Linked DNA regions of Homo sapiens: region 1 is linked to region 2. Evidence: promoter capture Hi-C in 16 types of primary human blood cells and fetal thymus (Javierre and others, 2016). All regions are on one chromosome and are shown on one strand. Each heading gives the region's core, a stretch centred on a gene start or on the middle of the fragment in contact. The rest is flanking DNA. Distances are from core to core; before and after follow the strand shown.

Region 1 (4,604 bases), core at 1,398-3,897, 110 kb after region 2:
CTCTCGCACCAGGGCTGGGATGCTCTTCTTTGCCAGATCCTCGTGCTGTAAGCACAGCTTACCTGGCACAGAAGACAGGAAGATGTCTCAACTGTATTCTAAATCCTAATTCCATTCCTAAATTTTCTCCAGATACATCTTGCTAATGGCTTCTATTTCATCAAAGTTAAAACATCATGCCCACAATCACAAACAACAAAAAACTAAAGGCAGACAGACCCATCTTGAATAGTCGAATAAAAATACCTAAGGAGAAATAAACTCCCCAGGAGTTATATACTATGGGATGTTCCTTTACACTAATAAAATCATCTTCCTTTTAAAGTCAACATTTGAATTTCGCAGTTATCCCCTTACCTGGAAAATGATCAGCAAAGCCTGAGAGGTGAAACATTTTACTCCTGATTATACATATCCTCTACAGATGCTAAATACCCATGCTGAATTTGAAATCTGAGCTGGGTAAATAGGAAAGAATGCATGTCCCCTTTCTTTCTTTCTTTCTTTCTTTCTTGTTCATAGTTGAAAAGGCTGCTGAGTTTTGTTTGTATGTTTCTTTTGTGCCTGGGAAATGTTTTGCAATTCTTAGGTATTTGAAAAATAACTAATATTACAAAAAAATTAATAACTTAGGTAGCATGAAATATACACTCACACTAAAGGAAAAATAAAAAAACAAAAAAACAAAATACAATTTCCAGCACAGAGGTCAGTGTTTTCAAGATTAAAAATAATTTGAGTTCATGGAGAAATATGTAAATAGTCATCTAGCCAATTCTGGAAAGTACTAAATAAACCATTTCCTTTTATGGAAAATTTATTTCTTCATTTCCAGAACTCAGTGCAGTGCCCGGCACAGAACAGACTTCGTGGGGCTGCATTATGAATATTAAAATATTACAGGAATATTCAAGTCAAGTGAAGGTATTGAAAAAAAATTACAGAAACAGGTATAATTGTAATAAATTAACATAACCCTACTGAAAAACAAAAGCTCCCTCTAGACCCTCTAGAGAGTACCTTAGTCTTGAGGACTTATCAGCCTGAGGGCTCTCATGACCAGCACGCAGTTATGCAGAGCTCAGCACTCAGATCAGAGCCACCTCTAGGAACCACATGGCTGAGAGCAGACACAGACAGGCTCCGCAGCCCCTGACACAGTCCCATGGCTGGGCTTACTTAAGACAACAGCTACACACAGAACGATGTCAAGCCCCATTCTCCCATGTTTTTCTTACCTAAGGTAATGATGGCATGTGCTCTAATCACAGAGGGCATGACAGAACCTCTGACCTGGGGGGGTGGCTGAGACGCTGGGGCCTCACTGCTGCCTTGAGATGATGGTGCTGCAAAGAAGGGAGAGAAAGTTACCGACAGAACCTTGAAACGGCATGCGTGCTACAGAGTATGATTTCAAATGCCTTACAGTGGTCAGCATCAGCAGACGAAGCCAGGACGGACTGAATCAGAAGGAAGATGCGCTTCTCCACCCTGGCTGGACACAGCTGGGCTATATCCCCTAAGGTAAAAATGTACTTCACCTACAAAGATAATTGGTTTTACAGTAAAAATAAGGCAAAAGAAAAGTGAACTCTAGCTAGATTAAGGACATGTCAATGGAGTATTTCCTTTATCCCCCAAATTTAAAACAATGTTACTAGTTTTCGTTTCATAAAAATACATGGCTATTGTAAAAACTTAGTCACTATGTAATGAAACTCATCCAAAATTAGGGCAAGCATATAATTTTATCATCTAAATCTAGACACATCTGCAAGTAAAAGGGGGTGCTATTAATAATTATTTTGTGAAAATAGGTGTACGCTAGGGTTATCTTGGGTAAACTGGGATACATCTACCTATAACCCTACCACCCAGAGACACCATTATTGTTTTTGTGTATAACTTTTTCAAAGTATTTCTATAGTCACGTGGCTTTATGTTTACTTTTCTTATACACTTACCAAGTATAGTATTTTGAAGTCTGCAATGATTACTTTGAATATTAGGCATCGTTTCATGTCAATATGTATGACACATATGTTTAATGACTACATAAGTATATGCCATTTCAAAACTAGGACTGTCGTCATAACTTACTGCACTATTCCAGTATCAATGAACACTGATGCTGTTTCCCTTTGCTAATGTTTCGATTAGCTCTGGTGAACACCTGTGTATCCTTAGATACTGCTCTCTTTCCTCAGAAGTAAAATCCAAGGTAAAGAGTATATAAAGCTATTTCACATTTTGAAACACATTTTCAAGTTGCCCTCCAGATTATTTTTCTATGTAGACCCCATCAAAAACCTACTCACAGCTGCCATGCTGTGTTTCTTCATAACATTCAGTTTAACAACTAAGTAATATTGTTCTTTTTTTATTTACACCCCAAATGAAGGGATGATGCTGAATAGTAAAATGTCAAATAAAAGCTTATTCTAGGGTAAGAAAGCCAATAACAAAGTATATGAGTTTAAAAGAATCTTGAAATACTGTATCTCTTCATTAAAAAAATATTTAAGTTCTATTTAAAGAAGCAAGAATGAAACTATGTATATAGGGCAAAACCTCTCCATATATATTTTGACTGAAGAGTAGATTTTGATGACACGGTTAACAGTTGAAAAAAACCTGGGGGAGGAGGGGTGGGGACAAGACTCACTGACCATAGTAAGCATCTTTCTTAATGTGGGCAGAAATGAGAAGAGCAAGACCCTCTAGAAGCCCTGGGCCAAGCCTGTGCTACACTCCCTGGTGCTCTTACCTAAAGCACCCAGGTTCCCATAGTGAGGCTCTGTATTCCTGATCACGTGCACAGTAGTGCCTCAGGCTCAATGGTCTTCTCTTTGAACAAATCTAAGCTTGGTCGGTGATCACTGGGCGTTAGGAGAGCTAGGCCAACAAGCAGAAACTGAACACAGAAAAGACGTGCTCCACTAATTTAAACATATGAGAAAAATGGCCCGTTTTGGTTAAATAATGATCTGTGCTGAATGGCATCAAAAAGCAGCTCATTATTTCCTTTACTGGACAAAGTCAGATGTTGGAACCAGAATTACTGCCATACATCTTATCCCCAGTCAGCCACTGAAATCAGCCCACTGTCCCGTCCTGGCTCACGGGAATTTCTTGCACCGTTTACAGTTTCTAAAGCAGGGGTGCCACAGAAAACAATCTTGGGGCTCCAAGGTCATCTGTGTTCTGAATTGTCAAATCTCTCATTTTATTTCAGTCATTACTTGGCAATTGCTCAGCACTGTTCCCCAGTTCTACTGTCTGATGTTCAAATAGCTCAGAAGACATGTTAAATTTTTAAAAAAGCAAACACACAAACCAAAAACACTATACTCACATTATTATTTCTTACCTTACATTTCTAAGCTTGACTATACCAACCTTACAACACATACTGTGTTTTCCCTACTGAAATCAGGCTTCTCATAAGACTGAACTAGATGAAGCGTATACCATTGAGTTTCCCCACCGATAAAAAGTATATAAGAAAAAAATGAATAGGTTATCAATTTAAAAATATCTTCTAAAAAGAGAAAGTAAGCTCTAGGCTAAGACAGCTCTTTTGTTAAAAGCATTTAAAGCGTACATGACAAAGTCATCTTTAATAGAACCTCACGGATAAAATGGAAGCGAAAAGAATGGTTAGGAAAAGCAGTCGCTTACCAACAGGTCTTCGTCCATATTCCCTGTTCCATTCTCCTTGAGAACGATGTTGGAGAGGCGGTGCTCGCAGGTGGAGAGTACATCCCCACACACCTGCGTCAGCAATTCCTACGGCAAGTCAAAAGTCATCTCTGAAGGGCCCCGCACATCTCCCAGACTACCCATGAAACACCATGTTCTCAGAAGAAACTATGATCTTCAAATGGATAGGCTGTAGGGGTGCTTCCTAGCTTTCCTCTTTCCCACAATTTGTCCAAAACCACAATGACATGCATTTAAGCAATCTAGCCATGAGTACTGGCTAAGTGGAATTTATAAAGAACGGTGTATATATCATCTTTCTTTTTACATTTGCCCTATAAGAGCAAAAGGCCAAATATTTACAATGACCCCATGTAGTAATTTGTAAGAGATCTATAATAGTAGTGCTCCTCCAAAAATACAGAAATAAGCTGTAGTTTTGCTGCCATATACAGATGATGAATTAACTACTGTGATAAACATTTTTTAAAGACATAAAATAGAGTTGCTACTCTTCTGAAATTTATGCATTAGGGACAAGTGTTCCGTGTCTCTCACTGATTACAATAACTTCAAGGGGTGACTTCTAGTGCACATTGGACTGTTCCTCTATGCCAAGGAAGAGAGAGAGCTCCCAACCACATTCTAGAATTCTTGGACCTCATTTTCTGTAGGAAACCATTCCAAAACACCTAGGTTGAGCTAAGGGCCTCCACCCCCTTGCTTCCATGTTACCCGATGCCGACTTTTATTTTAGGAATGATGACATTATGTTGAAATTATCTGCTGATGTGCACGCACCTCCCCCACTCCTCTGTAGTGCCTTAGGAAGGGACCTGTGTTAACCATCATCCAGTGCCTGGCAAGCCACCACTATGAGCAATGCTTTTAGTCTGACTTGC
Region 2 (4,395 bases), core at 943-3,442:
CAGCCTCCCGAGTAGCTGGGATTACAGGCGCCTGCCACCATGCCTGGCAAATTTTTGTATTTTTAGTAGAGACAGGGTTTCACCATGTTGGTCAGGCTGGTCTCAAACTCCTGACCTCATGGTCTTCCCTCCTTGGTCTGCCAAAGTGCTGAGATTATAGGCGTGAGCCACCACGCCTGGCCAGGGCTTAGCATTTTATTGTTGGTTTACATTCAGTTCCCCGAGCTCTTTTAAGAAGTGCATGTCTCCCTAGTAAGCCACACCTTAGAAATAAGCATATTCAGATGAGTAATGCTGTGATGGAGGCAGAGCCTCCTCAGCCCTGCTCACGGAATGCTTCCAGGACTTTGCTGCTGGCCTTATTGAGCTCTGATTCCCTTCTGCACAGGGTCAGAGCTCTCCAGGGAACAATGAAACCCTAAGGAAGAGCAGACCACTTCACAGCCACGTGTGTCCTACCCCACTCTGCTGCATCCCTAGTTAGACTTCCATTCCAGGAACTGTCTCAGCTGTTGGTAATGACATGCCGACTCCATCTGCAGAGGAAAATCAATGTCTTACAATGAAGCACCTGCCATCCACTCTCCTAGGAACCTCTGCCCCTTATAGAATATTCATGCAGCCCTTTTTTGTAATCTCGGTCTGAGTTTCAAAAGATTCCCTAGCAGGAAGACCATTTAACAGATAGACCATTTTACAACGCAAACACTGAAAATTCCGCAGGAGAAAAGAGGCACTGGTTTTTGAAAACCGTGCTCTGTCCACAGTCAGACACCATCTCACATTTCCAAGTAACCCAAACAGTTCCTTCAGTTAGGTAAATATGCCTGGCCATGTGACCAGGAGCTAAAGGGAATAATAGGGAAAACAGAGGGCAGAAAAAAATGTCAGTGGGCATAAGACGAATTTTCTTCTTTTTAATTTCTCGATTTTGTGCTTGATAAAGGGAAAGAGGCCACCATTATAAAACAACTTTTACACACTTTTACTTGTGATTTAGTGCATGGTGACCTGGAACATAAAGAAGATTTATGAAAGGAAAGACAGAATCATAGTAGGTAATTGAGTTATTTTTTAATTTTTATTCTGTCTTTATAAGATTTTTGAGAAGGTAATCAATTAACATAAAGATCTGAGCAGTTATAAAGATTTACAAAGAAGATTATACAGTGATGGAAACTGAAGCATATTCTTGGCAACAATCTCAATCTATTTCACGTTTCCCGGCTTTTACATATATAAATTTGGTATACATAATATGTAAATATACTTCTATTTTGCATGAAAACTAAAAATACTAAAAAAGTAGCATGAGTATATGAAAAAGTTAAACATTAAAAATATTAGTTGGAAACTGGCTTATTTTACTAACAATTATATTCAGAATTCTGTTGCTAGACTGCTGTTTCTGGGAACATTGGAGGTGTACTTTCTATACTTGCTAAAATACAAGCTTTTCAAGTATTTTCCATAGTATTAAGTGAGACTTTAAATACTCTTGCTTTTTTAGATCTAATTTCTGCTTTAATTTATCCTTCTCTTCATTTTTCCTGTTTGTCCTCATCTTACCTGTTCTTCCCTGGTTTTACTATCTCCCAGTATTCAGAAATCAGAGCAAATAATTAGTCTGCTTTTCTGCAGAATAAACTATTGGGTATGCCATCATGCTTTTGATCTACCACATAAACAAATTATTTTAGCAAGACATCACTTTTATATGCTGTATAATGTATGTATTGCTTATGTTTTAAGCAGATTTCAGCTCTTTTCCTTCCATCAATTTGGAATTGGGGGCCCAAAAGATGTGAAGGCGATAATGCTTCCAAGATAACTGGGCTGCATCCTTATTTGTAAAATAAGAAATACTTTATTTCCCAAATTTTAAAGGAGTGTTCCTTCTCCGACCTGTTGTGATGGATTTATTCTATAGCTATGGAAATATACCCTGCTTCACTCTTGTACATACTTCTTTACTCTCCTCCCGCCAAGTTCATTGAAAGAGAACCCATGTGCCGGTCCAGAGCATCGCTGCATCCGTAAGCAGCTAGACCTCAGCTTCCTCTGTCACCATGGTGCCGGCTCGGCTGGGCCCGGCGGTCGCCATGGTAACTGGGGCGGGTCGCAGGGTCCTGGCAGGCTGGGCGCATGCGCGCGGGGACTACAAGCCGCGCCGCGCTGCCGCTGGCCCCTCAGCAACCCTCGACATGGCGCTGAGGCGGCCACCGCGACTCCGGCTCTGCGCTCGGCTGCCTGACTTCTTCCTGCTGCTGCTTTTCAGGGGTGAGTTTGCGCGTTTCCGCTGTTGGGAGACTAGGGTCTGGGGGCGACGGAAGCAGAGCGGGCCGAAGCTGCTGGAGCCGGTCCGGGCGAGGATAGCGGTCCTGGCTCCGAGGGCTCCCGGGGTCCCGGGCCGGAGGGGCGGCGCGCGCCCGCGTCCCCGCAGCCAGGGCTGGGACTCGGGCCTGGCTAGGGCGGGGGCCCTGGGACGCCCGGCAGTTGGACCGGGGCGGGGAGCTAATTTGGGATGGGGGGCCCGTCCCAGGCAGTGAGTCGGTCCCGGACAGCCGTCGGACCCCGGGGGCGGGCTCTTCTCGGGCGGGGTCCTGTGCTGGGCGGTGGGCTCATCCCCCGGGTGGGCTCCTCCCAGGCGGGGTCCTGTGCTGGGCGGTGGGCTCATCCCCCGGGTGGGCTCCTCCCAGGCGGGGTCCTGTGCTGGGCGGTGGGCTCGTCCCCGGGGTGGACCCCTCCCGGGCGGTGGGCACGGCCCTCTGGAGGGAGCGCGGCAGCTGCGGCGTGGGCGCTGGAACTTGCTGGAAGACCCTGCGCAGCAGTGCTGTGCTCTCCAGAAGGGACGGTGAGCGGGGGACGTAGCTGAGGACCGGCGAGGCAGAGCTCCGAGGCCTGGCGGGCTGCTTGGTCACAGCCCTCTGGGGATCTGCAGTTCATTTGACTCGACACAAAGGAACTGCTTTTCTTTTACAGAAATAAAATGGATATCAATCCAGTACCTTTTTTGTCTCTGGCCTGGCCGAGGAGACCACGCAGACTCTTATCCGGAAATAGCATTCGGGGCATTTGATCAAGACACACTAATAAACTTGATAGTTTTGTGCATTTTCTTTCCCTCTGTTTGGAATTCTCATTAGATCCACATTTTCCTGGACAGTTGTACAGAGGACTAAAATAGCTTTCCTTTAGTGAGCTTGTACTGTCTACTAGGCACTTTGGAGCCATTATCTCGTTTACTCCTTTCAGCAGCTCTGTGAGATAGGTTTCATTAATCCATTTTCAGAGTCAAGTCTAGTCTGCTTTCCAAGGCTGCATTCTAAGTAGTGAAGCCTCAACTTCATATTTACCTAAAGCAGGACACCACACTCTTCCCCTGGCAGCCATCCGCAGGTAACCAGACCAGGACCTTTTTCGGTTCTTAGATTATTTTATTGTTTGAATTGCCACTGTCATCCCATGATGTTTTCCAGAATATACAAATTAAAACACGGAGGGACTGTTTAGGAGTGAAGGTGGACAGATTTTGGAAAACAAAGCATTCCTGTGTTTGGTGCTTTATGCTAATGGGATGCTCGTGATGGGCTGTGACAAAAGATGAGTTTTAGCGTATAGATTATGTACGCTAAGGCAAAGTCTGTATACTTTGCCTGAAAGTGATTCCCAAAACCAAATGCTGTTGGGAGATAAGTGATCAAAGGCTAGCCAGGGGACAAGGGTGTCAGGAATGTCCAGCACCCGCTGTGTTGGTCACACTGACACTGTCCTATTCACAGCCTGGAACAACTCTCTATTGTTGAAAAGATCTGTTCACGTGAAAGTTTGCAGTTTTTGTTGCAGAAGCATTTGGCAGTTTAGCTCAGGAATGAATTTCAACTTGGTAGTTTGTTAATAAAACTAGAAAATGCAAAGAGCTTCACTTACCCTTAACCTCTGATTTCCTTCCCCTAAGGGACTAGTTTTGTGGCTTTTTTGCTGGTAGGGGCTGGGATTCACATGCAGAGCGTAGGAGGAAGAATCAAATTTTGCAAACTAGTTCTAATGACAAATAATCGAGGTAGTAGGATGTATGAATCCACTTTGAAGGCGTGTAGCTATCTTTTTTTTAGTAGGGGCTCTTTTTCCATTATTTGGTTTATGCTTTAAGCTACCCTAAAACTGTTCTTCCAGAAGTCATGACTACTGTGTCCTTTTTATTTTTTATGATTATTCTCAATTGCTATTACTATTTATTTTCATCTTAAAAATTTTGGTTCTTGATATAACAGCAAACATTTCTTTTGTGGTTACCCTTTGCCAGGCTCTGTTACAAGAATTTAATGTTTGCTAATTTATTTAATCTTGATAACTCTAAGAAGTCGTTACTATTGTTGTGCCCTTTTGTGGATG

What was found. Contacts are between HindIII fragments. The CHiCAGO score rates a contact against its expected background, and 5 or more counts as called.
Region 1: a contact is called between a fragment that was not itself captured here and the fragment with the promoter of JAM3 in region 2, in 5 of 17 cell types (activated CD4 T cells, naive CD4 T cells, non-activated CD4 T cells and 2 more). The highest score is 7.5, in activated CD4 T cells.

What each region holds. Positions count from the first base shown.
Region 1 is chr11:134,177,396-134,181,999 of GRCh38, forward strand. It overlaps NCAPD3 (non-SMC condensin II complex subunit D3), which reads right to left. Exons shown (of 35, transcript NM_015261.3): 20 at 3,682-3,789; 21 at 1,427-1,541; 22 at 1,239-1,346; 23 at 1-62. Among named protein-coding and RNA genes, the nearest start is that of SNORD153, 28 kb to the left of the region's middle. The HindIII fragment of the contact is 429 bases long and covers 2,434-2,862 here.
Region 2 is chr11:134,066,880-134,071,274 of GRCh38, forward strand. JAM3 (junctional adhesion molecule 3) reads left to right here and starts at 2,193. Exons shown (of 9, transcript NM_032801.5): 1 at 2,193-2,280. The coding sequence starts at 2,205. RefSeq lists a silencer at 1,998-2,187. The HindIII fragment of the contact is 4,850 bases long and covers 1,452-4,395 here.